Regions from separate parts of the Homo sapiens genome. Here all the other regions are linked to region 2. The links are contacts of gene promoters, found by promoter capture Hi-C in blood cells and fetal thymus (Javierre and others, 2016). All regions are on one chromosome and are shown on one strand. The core of a region is centred on a gene start or on the middle of the fragment in contact, and the rest is flanking DNA. Distances in the headings are between cores, read along the strand shown. Region 1 overlaps RAB3C (RAB3C, member RAS oncogene family). Region 2 holds the start of GAPT (GRB2 binding adaptor protein, transmembrane). Region 3 has its middle 170 kb from the start of PDE4D-AS1. Region 4 overlaps RAB3C (RAB3C, member RAS oncogene family).

Region 1 (3,498 bases), core at 347-2,846, 300 kb after region 2:
GGGTAAAATTGTGTTAGTGTTTACTTTGGAAATATATAAACCTGGTGGCTTCTATATCTGGAATACTTCCAGGAATTAAGGAAAAGGTGAAGGGAGCAGCTTCCAGGCACCTAACAATAACAGCCCTATGGCTATGGGGGCAAAACCTTTTCCTCATGCAGTAATGGGGATTACTCATAGGCTAGCAGAAATGGTCCAAACCAACCATCTGAAGAAGGAACCAAGTGCACGGAAAAAAGCAAGAAATTTTACAAAGGAAAGGGGAAAGTGGAAACAAAAGAGAGGAGAGCAACAGATGCAAATGCAAGGGACTAGTACAGTGCAGTGGAAATTAGAGCCAGAGGCGGAAGCTGTGAACCACACATGGAAACATTGATTTTGGTGAGGGAGGGGGGAGATGAAGGGGAGTGATAGTATACCTACTAGATTCGACTCCAGAGCAGAATGTTTCCCAACAACCCTTCCTATAGATGGCCAAGCTATTTTCGTTAATAATTGTGATGTGGAATGAATAATAATAGCCTGAAACAAACACAGTAAAAATCTTCTTTTACTGAACTTTGTGTGTGTGTGTGTATGTGTATATATAAAACCTTGTGTATATATACACACACACAAAGTTTAATAAAAGATTTATATATATATAATCATTATATATGTAATTAATTGTTAGTAATTGTTAGAATTTACACTAAGAAAAGATTTTTTGAGGGCAGGAGTATTTTATCATTGACATTGTTTTGATTCTCATGTTTGCTAGCACATGGCAATAATAGAAAAATATTTAGAGTGTTATATTATTGTTCTAAAATTCTGTATGTCCAATGCACATTCTTATTGCTTGTACCTGAGGGAGAACCCTGTCACAAATGGAGGGGAGTCAGCAGCCCAAACAGAAAAATATTTGGTTCACTCTGCAGAGAAGGGACACACAGCCTCAAACCTCTCAGTGGGCCCTAAGGGCTTTGCTGAACTGTACAGCCTGTGGATACAATACCAAAAGAGAAATTTCTTCAGAATTCCCTCAGAGGAAAAGCTTCTCTTATGTTTCCTACTTTAAGAATTCCTGGCCGGGCGCGGTGGCTCGTGCCTGTAATCCCAGCACTTTGGGGGGCCGAGGCAGGCAGATCACGAGGTCAAGAGATCGAGACTATCCTGGCCAACATGGTGAAACCCTGTCTCTACTAAAAATACAAAAATTAGCTGGGCGTGGTGGCACACGCCTGTAGTCCCAGCTACTCAGGAGGCTGAGGCAGGAGAATCGCTTGAATCCAGGAGGCGGAGGTTGCAGTGAGCCAAGATCGTGCCGCTGCACTCCACCTCAAAAAAAAAAAAAAAAAAATTCCTAAGTGTTACAGACTTCATTTTGCCACTTTTTTTTTTTTTGCTTTGGCAGAGTACAGAATAAGTAAATGTACACACACATATACACATGCACACATACATATAGTTTGTAGTCCCAGTGTGGGGAGCTTTTAAAAGTCTGATTTCTGAACCTTATCTCTGGAGAGACTCACTAAGTCTGGGATGAGGACCAAGAATCTACATTTTAAAAGCATCTGTGTATTTCTGATGGTCATCTAGGTGGAGGAATCATTGGTGATGAATTTGCATTTTTCTAGCTCTATGCTTGTAATATTCCACTTCAATTAAATATCTATGGTCCTGATTATACATTTCTATTGTGTGAGTTTATTGTCTATCTTCTTATTTTATCTTGGAGATCACCTTAATATAGAATTGGAATTTAATTGTTAGGAGAATAAAATCCTCTTTCTCCTTTCCTGAAACCATGATTTCTCCCAAGTATAAATGCAGAATGTGAAGCCTCCGGTTTGAGAGGTCATAAATCAGCAGCAAGTTTCTCAGCAGGGTGTATATTAAAATGGAAGGCCTTCTATTCTTACAGCAGGTCACTAAAGTTATACCAGCAAATGCAATGAAAATTCACAGTGCTTTTTACACCCTCATATATTACTAGATTCTCCCTTAGAAGTGTATAAAACTGTTTTCTCTACTTAAATAATGCCCCCCATTTTTTTCTTTTTCTTTTCTTTCCTTTTTTTTTTGTGGTTCTTCAGACAGAATTTACAATTTAAAAGAAAACAGAGGAAGAAAAGTAGAAAAAAAGCTGGCATGACACAAAACAAAACACAGAAGCTTGTGGGAACCATGATAACTTACTGATTTTTCTGGCTGCAAGATTGTATGAAACAAAAAATAGCAATATATAACACTTCCAGTTTCCCCCCGAAGCAGGCATGACCAAGCTCGTTGTGGTCCAGATTGTCTAACCAGTTATGCTTTAAAAAAAAAAAACATTCTTCTGTTGTCTGTGTCTTTACTAAACCTCAAATGCCAGTCGGTGTGAATATTCACCAATCTATTCAGTTTCATCATGTAAGAATCACTGTTTTTAATTATTTATTAAAAAAACATTTATTAAGTGTTAAGTATTATAGACAAAGGACTAAATGATGCTTTAATTCTCGTAACGTCTCTATGAAAGTGGTTTTCCCCCCATTTTACAGATGGAGAAAGTGAGGCGCAGAGGAGTTCAGTTACTTTCTCAAATGATTCAGCTAATGTATTTCTTGTATTTTGATGTATGGATGTATCACCACTGGGAACTTATTTAAAATGCTGATTACTCCTAGGGATTCCCCTTCAGTAGGTTCTGTGGAGCCCAGGAATCTGCATTGCTAACAAGCACCAGGTGAACCTGATGCAGATAGTTCATTTAGAAAAAGATTATTGATATGGTTTGGCTGTGTCCCCGCCCTAATCTCATCTTGAATCGTAGTTCCCATAACTCCCATGTGTTGTGGGAGACACCCGGTGGGAGGTATTTGAACCATGGGGGCGGGTTTTTCCCATGCTATTCTCAGGATAGTGAGTAAGTCTCCTGAGATCTGATGGTTTTGTAAAGGGGAGTTCCCCTACACATGCTCTCTTTGCCTGTCACCATGTAAGATGTGATTTTGCTCCTCCTTTGCCTTTTGCCATGATTGTGGGGCCTCCCCAGCCATGTGGAACTGTTAGTCAATTAAACCTCTTTCCTTTATAAATTACCCAGTTTCGGGTATGTCTTTATTAGCAGTATAAGAACGGACTAATATACTTATAGAATACTATGGGTTTCCCACTCTGAAAGACAGCTCAGAGTTCAGGACATGAAGGAAGTCCTCACCCTGTTCCATTTCCATTCTATCACCTGGCATTTGTCCCCTCAGAACTCAGGCCATAGGAAGCCACACTCCAGCCTACCCATCCTGGCCTGCTGTGTAACTTTCAACCAAAAGTTTTCTTAACTATAGTTGTGTAACTTAAAAAGTGGTTACTGAAACTGCATGTTGTACTTCATTCTGGGTGAAGGGCCAAGAGTTGTGAAAATTATTGACAGAGTGGGAGCTGACAGAAGAGGCTCAGGAGAAAAGAAGACAGGTATAACTTTATCTGTCTCACTGGGCCTCCCAACCCATAGGCCTTCCATTCCCT
Region 2 (3,319 bases), core at 800-3,299:
CATATTACACTACAGAACAATAAACTACTTCCTAAGCCCTTTACTACCCAAACCGTATAACTGTAGAAGAAAAAGCAGGAAAAGAAAACCTAGACATAATTGCTGTGATTAAAAAGGAACTGAAAGGAGACAATAAATATGTATTTTGCGAGGCCAAAGATTGGGAAGTAGGAAAATATAGAATTCAAGACATAAAACATAATCCCTACAAATGACAATGATCCAATAATTCTATTTTGAATATATACAGCATTTCTTTTATAAACTTGAAGAATAATTATATCCATTACATCAAAAAAATTCTATTTGAGGAAAGTGCCAGTCATTTTCCCTCCATTTTATTTTCCGTTAGAAAAACTAAAGTAATAAGGGGTTAAGCAACTTTTTTAACTTCAAAGGGCAAAAGCTGAATGAGCACCAGTTGTCCTGCCTTCTAGAGAAAATCATAATTTTATACAAACATTGTATAAATTGCCTTTCTTACAGATGTATGCCTAGGCAGGTGAGTGTGTATATTATTTGGAGGGGTGGCTAATACTGAAGTTAAATATAGTGGTGAGAATGTGGAGCACATCAAGTTCATAGCTTCACAACTTCATAACCTCCTTCACTGTAAGATTTTTGTCCAGGACACCCCTATTCTGCCTTAACACCTTATTCTATGAGGCTTAGCTCAGGTCTTGCCTTCCCTGACCACCCTCTGAGCTGGATGCCTCTTTCCTTTACCTCCACTGTCCCTGTCCATAATCCTGTCTTTCTTAGGCATTATCACTTTGATCTGAAATGTTCTGTGGGCGCAGCAGCCTCTCTACTTGGCTTTAAGTGCTGCAGGGAGCTTATTCACTCTTGCATCCTCATCTCTTAGCACAATGCCTGGCATAATGTCAGTGCTCAGCAAGTGTTAATAATACGTCCTGTCCTTCCAATGTCCAGTAGTTATTTCAGTAACTAAATCCTCTTTTTTAAAACCACCTTATGCAAAGTTAATCCTCTGTGGTTCAAAAAGTTCCAAGACAACTTAAAAGACAAATTTTCCATTACTTTGTCATCTCATCTGTCGAATTCATCTGTAATTTGTCTAATTCAGCATCTCCCACTGTGTGTGTTCCCATGAGTTGGACTCCAAGAGATGCTCTTGGTAAGCGTATCTATGTGGGAAACATGTTACTCAATCTAGCAAGGCAGCCAGTGCAGTGGTTTAGCACACAGGTGCTGGGGGCAAACTGCAGGCTCTGTCGGGCAAGTGATCATTCTGTGTGCTTCTGTTTCCTCTTCTGTAAAATAGGACTAATAACAGTTTTTCTCCCTCACAGGGTTGTTGCCAAGATTTGCTGAGTATTACACAAAAGGTTTGGAGTACTTAGTGCTAGGAACATACTGACTACTATTATTAAGCAAAGTTAAACAATTTCTTTTTCTTATTTGGTTTTATTTTGTTTGCTGGCTGTAAGACTGCTGAGAGCCTTTAGCATGCTGATGTACCCATGAATCTCCAGGGAAGCAGTATTCCCCACATTTACTTGATGGAAGAGCTGCTAGCATATCTCAGGGGTAATGGGCCTCAAAACATACCTTAGGAAATTCCTATTTATAAATTTAAAAGAACGTTAACATTTTCCAAACCCAAATTGGGACACTGATTTGACCTGTATGGCTATAACTTGGGAGCATTGGTACATAATATTAATATTTGAAGAGAGGACTGGTCTAGCAACACAAGTAAATAATAATAATAATAATAAAAGCCCAAGACCTATGTGTTACTACAATTAAAATATTTCTTTTTTTAAAAAATCAAAGTACAAGTGAAGTGACTTTTATTGATATTAAAGTGGGAACTGCAAATATGGCCCAAATAAAAAACCATGTAGGCTTTACGTATTATTTTCTGACACAGTTAAAAAACTATTACTTGACAAAGATGAAGGGCCAGACTTCCTTATTCAAAACCTCACGCCATTTATCTTAATTCTGCTGCATCTGATACTGACTTCCTCTAGAGCCAGGAAACTTTGCAAGTATTAAATAGCGTGAACGAAGGAGGGAAAGAAGGAAGTAACCCACCAAAGTGAAAAAGAGGAACAAGTTCTAACCCAATGCAGGTTTAAAACATAACCAAAAGAACAAAAGAGAGAGCTTGACACACCAATCTTGAGGTAAGTAAGAACCTGATTTAAGGTATTTGGATGATTAAACACTATAAGAAACAAGTTTGTCTTTAATTAATCAATGATTTTTATCTTACTACAGTTTTTAGAAAAAAATGCCTTACGTAGCTGTAAGGGGGAAACCCAATTTACAAACTGAGAGTGATGTTAATGTTTCTTTACAATATGATTATGCTTTGCTGTTACCTTGTTTCCAAACAGCAGGGCATTCTCTTACTTGAAAATTCCTGAAGTTTCTCAACAATTTGCGATTTTAAGAAAAATGTCAAATTGTTAGGTAACCTGTTGGAACTGCTTTCCAAAATGAAAACAGAGTCTTCTTTCAAACTGGTCAAAGTGAACATTATTTAAGTGTTAAACTATATTTGAATGGTTATTGTTTAAAATATGTTTTTCATTATAGTAGGTCTTTGTTCATGTCTCACAGGTTTTTTCCTCTAATGTTATTTCGAAGAAAATGATGCATTTCTTTTTCTGTAAAAAGTCTTCTTGTCTTTATCTTGGTAAATATCTCTTAGACAAACAATTTTAATATTTTGGATGTACCAGAATTTCTACTCTACATAGAATAACATAGATGGTAAAAATGCCTTTTCTTCTTAAAAATTAAGAGAGTAATTTATTGCCTTATCCTCAGCTACAGAAGTGACAATAGTTAGCCTTCCTCAACCCTCACCGTGACTTCTGTTGCAGGCCTAGTATCTTTCAAAAAGTTGATTAATTTCAATCAATACTTAAAGTGTATTTTGTAAATTTATTTCAAATATTCTGGCAAATAACTTCTTAAATCATTAACCATGTATACCATAAAATATCTTGCAGATAATTGGTGCTCATCTGTTTCAGACAGGAAATGAGGTCCTAATGATTAAAGTCATTTGGCTAAACTTTTGTCCTTGAACACAAGCACGGCTGGCCTTATAAAGGAGGGACCCTGCAGATTGTAAATCTTATGTGGCGGACCATACAGTTCTCAACCTCAATATTACTCCCAAAAATTCCAAGGAGATTAAAATGTTTCTGCATCTGGGGTGCTTGTCCCTGTATTTTTATCAAAAAATTGTATAAATTAGCTGCACATCTTATTTAATTTTCTTTTATGAAATGTCAAATTAAATATTTGCATATTAATATATTCTAACCTTGGACAA
Region 3 (3,346 bases), core at 2-2,501, 370 kb after region 2:
TTGATCTCTAGGCCAGACTCATAAATATAATGGTTTTAGCCAGAAACAACCTATCCTTGGATTTAAAATGTAAATTATTCAGTATTAAGAACACCCTAAATTCAACCCATGATCTCATCATTAGAACCAAGTACAGTTTATAGAGTAACTGGCTAAATAAAAACACAAGACAGGCAGGGCATCATGGCTCATGCCTGTAATCCCACCACTTTGGGAGGCTGATGCAGACGGAACACAAGGTCAGAAGATTGAGACCATCCTGGCCAACATGGTGAAACCCCATCTCCATTAAAAACACAAAAATTAGCTGGGCATGGTGGCACATGCCTGTAGTCCCAGCTACTCAGGAGGCTGAGGCAGGAGAATCGCTTGAACCCAGGAGGCAGAGGTTGCAGTGAGCTGAGATCACACCACTGCATTCCAGCCTGGCGAAAGAGCAAGACTCTGTCTCAAAAAAATAAAAATAAAAACAAAAACAAAAAACCACGAGACACAATTATATGCTACGCATAAGAGACTTGCGTCACCTTTAAAGATGCAAATAGATTGAAACTGACATGATACAAAAAAAAAAATTCCCTGCAAACGGAAATCGAAATAAAGTGGAGGTAGCTTTACTTACATCAGATAGAATAGACATTATATCAAAAACTAAAACAAGATAAAGTCATTATATAATGATGAGAAGAGCAATCAATCAAGATGATGTAACAATTGTAACTAGATATGCACTCAATATCAGAGCATCTAAATATGTAAAACAAATATTAATAAATTTCAAGAGAGAAATATGTTGCAATACAATAATAGTAAAGGACTTCAACACCCTATTTTCAACAGTGGACAGATTATCCAGACAGTAAGTCAATAAGGAAATACTGGACTTAAACTATACTTTAGATGAAATGGACCTAACAGACATATATAGAACATCTCATCCAATAGCAGTAGAATACACATTCTTTTTAAGCACACAGGAAAGATTCCCCAGAATGGATCATATTTTGGGCGATAAAACAAGTGTTAAAAATTTTAAGAAAATTAAAATCATATCAAGTATCTTTTCCAACCACAGTGGTATGAATTAGAAAGCAATAAAAGAAATAATGGAAACTTCATGAATTTGTGGAAATTAAACATGTTCCTGAACAACTAATTGTTCAAAGAAGAAATGAAAGAGAAACTTAAAAATATCTTAAGAAAAACAAAAATGGAAAAACATGATACTAAAACTCATGGGATGCAGTAAAAGCAGTTCTGAGAGAAAAGTTGATGGTAATAATTGCCTACATCAAACAAGAAGATTCCAAACAACCTAATGTTATACCTCAAAGAACTAGAAGAAGAAGAAAAAAAGAAGAAAAAAAGCCCACAATTAGTAGAAGGAATGAAATAATAAAGATCAGAACAGAAATAAATGAAATAGAAATAAAAACAACAGAAAATATGAACGAAATAATAGTTGTTTTTTAAAAAATAAAATTGACAAATCATTAGCTTGACTGAAAAAAAAAAGAGAGAGGCCTCAAATAAATAAAATCAGAAATGAAAGAGGAGACAATACAACTGATACCATGGAAAAAAAATGATGGACAAATTCAGCTCCTTATGATTGTAGGAATGAGGTCCCTAGTTCCTTGCAGGCTGTCACCCAAGGACAGTCTTTGCTCCTGGAGTCTTGTCTATGCACCTTCTCATGCTTTTGATGAGCTCCAAGAGGCCTCCCTCCAGTCATCACCGTTATATCCCAGCACCAGCAACAGTATGTCAAATAACTTACAACCTTGGAACCTCGCTGACTCCCTCTTCTGCTGCATCCATTCTGCTTTCCTCTTCCTACTTCCTCTTCTGCTTTTAAAGGCTCGTATGATTACACTGGACCCACCTGGATAATCCAGAACAATCACCATAGTTTCAGATCCATAGTCTTAATCACAATTGCAAAATCCCTTTTGCCATGTAATGGGACATATCCACAGGTTCCAGGGATTAAAGAACATCTTTAATATGTGCCATTATTATGCCTACCACACACCTTTACACAATTCCCTCCCCTTCGTTGTGGAATGGATTTAGCAAATAGAATGCAGCAGAGACTATGAGATGTCCTTTGCAAGATTCGGTTATAAAAGACTGCAGCTTCCACTTTTGGACATTCTCATTCTTTCTTGACTTCTCATTCTGGGGAAGCCAGCTGCTATGTATTGAGGCAGACACACAGTGGAGAAAGCCATGGGATTCAGTTTGGAAGCAGATCTTCTTAAGCCTGGTAACAGCCAATGAATGAATTTGGAAGCAGATCTATCCTAAGTTGAACCTTGAGAAATCTGCTGGTCCAGCCAACAACTTAATTACATTCTTATAAGAGACTCTGAGCCTGAAATACCCAGCTAACCTACTCCTGGATTCTCAATCTACAGAATCTGTGAGATAATGTGTTTTGTTTTATTATATTCAGCGGTTATAATCTGGAATAATTCATTATGCTGCAATAGATAATGAATGCACCCAGTGACTCTCTGACTGATCTTTTCTAAAACTGGAGACACTTTATTTCTCATCATTGTATAAAGAAGTCTACAGCTAGAAGTTTCTAAGATCTATTATTGTGGACAATAGAAAAGCATTTGTTAATACAGAAACTGGATATATTTAGATGTAGAACAAGAAGTCTCTGTGTTCAAATAGCCATTGGATTGGCCCTTATAGCCTGCTTGGGGTGCAACATTTTCAAAATAAAGAGAAGGAAGGTAGAATCCAGGCAAAAGAAATCCACATTATTATGAACTTGGGACACATAAACTCTACATCCAAGGAAACTGATTTATATAAATTGGTAGAGAAAAAAACTGAAGATGCACTATGATGGAGTACAATAAGGATAATGTGTCACCTTTCCTTTTTTTAGTTAGAGCCACGTAACTGGAGTAGTATTTCCCAGAGTGTGGTCCACAGACCATTTATTTTAGAATCACCTATGATGGTTGTTTAAATTGCAGATTCCTGGGCTTCTAAAGTAGAATCCCCAGGGAGTAAATATACCTTACTAATAAGCTTCTCCGGTAGTATTCATTCCCAAAAAGTTTGAGAACCACTGACACATGGTTAGGAATGCAGACTTTGAACAATCTGTGTTCAAATCTCACCTCTTTTTTTGTAACTCTGAGGGAGAGAACATTGGCTATTTTGCTCCTGCAGAATCCCCAGCACCTAGAACAGTGCCTGGCTTGTAGCTGGTGCTCCAAAAACATTTGTTGAATGAAGAATGAATGAATGACCCAGGGCAACAGTTTTAATTTCACTAATTTTCTTAGAAGAAAAAAAATTAGGAAAATAGCCCCTATCT
Region 4 (3,299 bases), core at 515-3,014, 280 kb after region 2:
CCTCTAGGTATCCATACACTTCTATAGTCCTCTCAAGCTGACTCTGGGCTTGGCTATATGAAATGCATGGGCTAATGCGACATGGATGTGAGCAGAGGCTTGATAAGTGCAGTCTTGAATGGCAGAACCAGGAGAATTGACTGTACTTGGTTAACAATAGGGAACTAGTGAAGGTTTTTCAGCAAGGGACTGACAGGACCAATGTAGTGCTTCAAGACTATGAACCTGATGATGGTATTAAAATAAAGTCACATGGGATGGGGTGTTTGGAGATCCTGGTAGGGTGAACATTTGTGAGATTATTGTTCTTTAAGTGAGTCTCTCCATTAGAATAGAAGGGCAGAAAATCAATACTGGAAATAGTCTGTGTGTTAAGAAAGGACTTCAGGGAAGAAAGACTAATGCACCACAGTGATGCAGCAGCTCTCTCAGACCACTATGGACAGAGGTGGACAGCCTTAGCCAAGTCCCTGGAGAATGTTCTCCAAGGTTGAATAAATCTTTTCATTGTCATGAGAACAAAGAAGACGAGAGAGAAGGCTCATCGTGCTTGTCTTTTGATTTTTATCTTATTTCTGGGCATCCCATGAAAGCACACTTCAACTTATTTCCTTGAATTCTAAATTTCTAACTATTCCAGATGACTGCATTTCAGCATAATAATCTAAATCTTTGCATTCTTCTAATTTTCAGCATTCATATGCCAAAAATCTTAAATTGCTTAAAGATTATATATCAGGTAAGGAAATTATAGGTCTATTGTATAGAGAATCATAAGAGTGGAGAAGTAAAATCTTTTTCAGTAACAAAGAAAAATCATGTTGCATTCACAGGACCATGAAGCCAAGGGTGAAAGTGTCAGGTTTTAGGTAGGAAGGAAGAACAACCCAAAAGAAGCAGGCATTTTATGCTTTTCATGCATCGTCTGACCAACCTGACCTAGAAGCCTACATAGATTCTCCCAGGAGAGCAATAGACACACACTATGTATCTGGGAAAGTAGTCATAAAGATTTCAGATAAAGTCCTAAGAGGGCTAGGCCAACAGTGGGATAAGCCAACCTAGCTCAGCTTAGTGGCATTTTGTAAACCAGTCACATGAAGAGATAAAGGCAAGTTATAAGCCTAGGGCCAGGGGACTAACCACTATAGATGTGGCTTAGAATGGAGTACATACTGCTCCTACTTAGTATTCATTGTTAAGGCAGCAGAGACTCATACACAGAAAGAGGTGCAAGGAAGAACCCCTATTAGTAAAAGCATGTTTCTGAGAACCCAAATAAGGGACTGTCCTAAATGAACTTGGAATAGCATTCAAGTCACTCCCCATCATAGGACTGCAACTACCTGTTTCAGAAGGAAAATAAGTAAGAATTCACCAAGGAGTGGGCCAGAAATGTCTAACGGATAGCAAAGAGTCAGCTTTCAAGGTGTGTTTGTGTGGAAAGTAGGTGGCTACTCCCCTTGAATAATTTGTGAGGAGTCAGAAGAGCTCTAATGAGTAAATACCAACATTTTGGTTATTCAGAGTTTGTGCAGCAGTTCACACTGGGTACCTTGATTGAGGCTGGTACTGATTCAAGAGCTCTGGGGGAAAGGAGGCACAGCTGTCAATCAGTGGCATTCCTCAAAATCAAGTGAACAGCATCAAGATGAAGACGCAGTGAACCATTAGGTTTAGGGGCTGATCAGTTGATCCCATCACTCCCTAGTCCCCCTACAACATCCTCTTCTAGCAATTCCCAGGACCAATTTATTCCAACCATCTGCTTTTTTTCTGCTTCTGCTCCCAAGTTGCAAATGCTGCTGGAGAAAATCGGATACCTCTGCCAGCTGGCACCAGGACAACCTCAGCTGGGCTCTCCATGCTGCTCAGCAGTCTTTTCACGTGTCCTAACTACCTTCCATTAACAGTGCCCAGAGCAGCTGTTCCAAACTCTACACTCTTCACATGCTTCCTGGAGCTCTCCTCCCTTTGCATTCTCAGCTACTGGCCTTGCTCTGACATCACTGAGAAAATAGAGGGCATCAACTCTGTACCCCTACTCCCTAGTGTAGCACCTGAGACATAGTATGTTGAAATGGATCAATGAATGAATAAATTAATTCACTCATGAATGTAACTGGTAAGCACCAGTTTCTCTTTCTCTCTTACCTGGTATCAGATCTATCCTTGCTTCCTGTACACATACCTGGGAGGGAGGGAGAATTCTCTGCCTTTCCAAGGCCAGTGCTTCCACCTAAGCTCTTGATTCTATTAATATCTGCTCCCCTCTCCTCTGGGATCATTTATATACCCTTTCTTCTGTACCTCTCTTTCCATCTTCTACCTTTTAGCCCACAAACATGCTTAAGTCTCTGTCTCTGTCTCCTACAACTAGTATGTCCTGAGCAACTTTTATGTGCCAGGCACTGTTTCTAGCACTACAGAGATATTAGTGGGGAAAAACATATAGAACATCTGCCCTTTAATGGAGGTGGGTGGATGCAGATAATAAGGTAATGAGGGATACAAATAAATGAATTTAAAATAGATGTTTATAAATTTCTTAGAAAAAATACAAACAGGGAATGGGGGCAGAGTCTACTAGGGAGGGAGAGGGAGTAGGGATGCTACTTTAAATAAAGCAGCTAGATATAGGTGACATTCAAGCCATGATATGAAGGAGGTAAAGAAGCCAAGTGAAGACTCTGCATTCAAAGCAGAGGAAACAGCCATGTGAACGTCCTGTGTCAGGGCAGAGTGTCCTTAGCACAAATCAAGAAGCAAAGGAGACTGTGTGGCAGGAGCTGAGCGAGAGGTGGAACTTTAGTAGGATACAGGTCAGGGGACCAGATCTTGAGGGCCTTGTGAAGCATCGTGACTAAGGACTTTGGCTTTTGCTCTGGGGAAAATGGGAAGCTGGTGGGAAGGTTTTGAGTAGAGGAGTGGCATGGTCCAATATATTTAAGAGGATCCCTCCAGCTTCTGTGTTATGAATTGAGTAGAGTGGGGTGGAGGAAGAAGTGGGAACCCTGGTTAGGAAGTGATTGCAATCATCTGAGAGAGAAGTGCTGTGCACGATTGCATCCTCATTTGCCACCACATTTGTCAAAAGGACTGTTTCACTCATCGCCTCCATACTTTCTGTCCTCATCTAGTCCCATCTGGTTCATGCCCCCAGTGCTCTTCTGAAAATACTCTTGGCTGAGATCACAAATGACCTAAGTACCAAATGTCAAACCCAGGGGCTTCTCTTCAGTATCTGAGGCTCCTTTATAAAACCTCAGGGCCAAAGCAAGCCCAACTGTGTCTTGACC

Evidence for each region. Contacts are between HindIII fragments. The CHiCAGO score rates a contact against its expected background, and 5 or more counts as called.
Region 1: a fragment that was not itself captured here is called in contact with the fragment with the promoter of GAPT in region 2 in 1 of 17 cell types (M2 macrophages); the score reaches 7.0 in M2 macrophages.
Region 3: a fragment that was not itself captured here is called in contact with the fragment with the promoter of GAPT in region 2 in 9 of 17 cell types (M2 macrophages, M1 macrophages, M0 macrophages and 6 more); the score reaches 10.3 in M2 macrophages.
Region 4: a fragment that was not itself captured here is called in contact with the fragment with the promoter of GAPT in region 2 in 6 of 17 cell types (M1 macrophages, M2 macrophages, monocytes and 3 more); the score reaches 7.9 in M1 macrophages.

The regions. Positions count from the first base shown.
Region 1 is chr5:58,792,209-58,795,706 of GRCh38, forward strand. All of the region lies in intron 3 of RAB3C (RAB3C, member RAS oncogene family), which reads left to right. Among named protein-coding and RNA genes, the nearest start is that of RAB3C, 210 kb to the left of the region's middle. The HindIII fragment of the contact is 1,124 bases long and covers 1,035-2,158 here.
Region 2 is chr5:58,489,386-58,492,704 of GRCh38, forward strand. It overlaps GAPT (GRB2 binding adaptor protein, transmembrane), which reads left to right and starts at 2,050. Exons shown (of 3, transcript NM_001304431.2): 1 at 2,050-2,156. The HindIII fragment of the contact is 6,945 bases long and covers 1-3,319 here.
Region 3 is chr5:58,864,245-58,867,590 of GRCh38, forward strand. No RefSeq gene overlaps it. Among named protein-coding and RNA genes, the nearest start is that of PDE4D-AS1, 170 kb to the right of the region's middle. The HindIII fragment of the contact is 3,602 bases long and covers 1-3,052 here.
Region 4 is chr5:58,772,072-58,775,370 of GRCh38, forward strand. All of the region lies in intron 3 of RAB3C (RAB3C, member RAS oncogene family), which reads left to right. Among named protein-coding and RNA genes, the nearest start is that of RAB3C, 190 kb to the left of the region's middle. The HindIII fragment of the contact is 4,726 bases long and covers 1-3,299 here.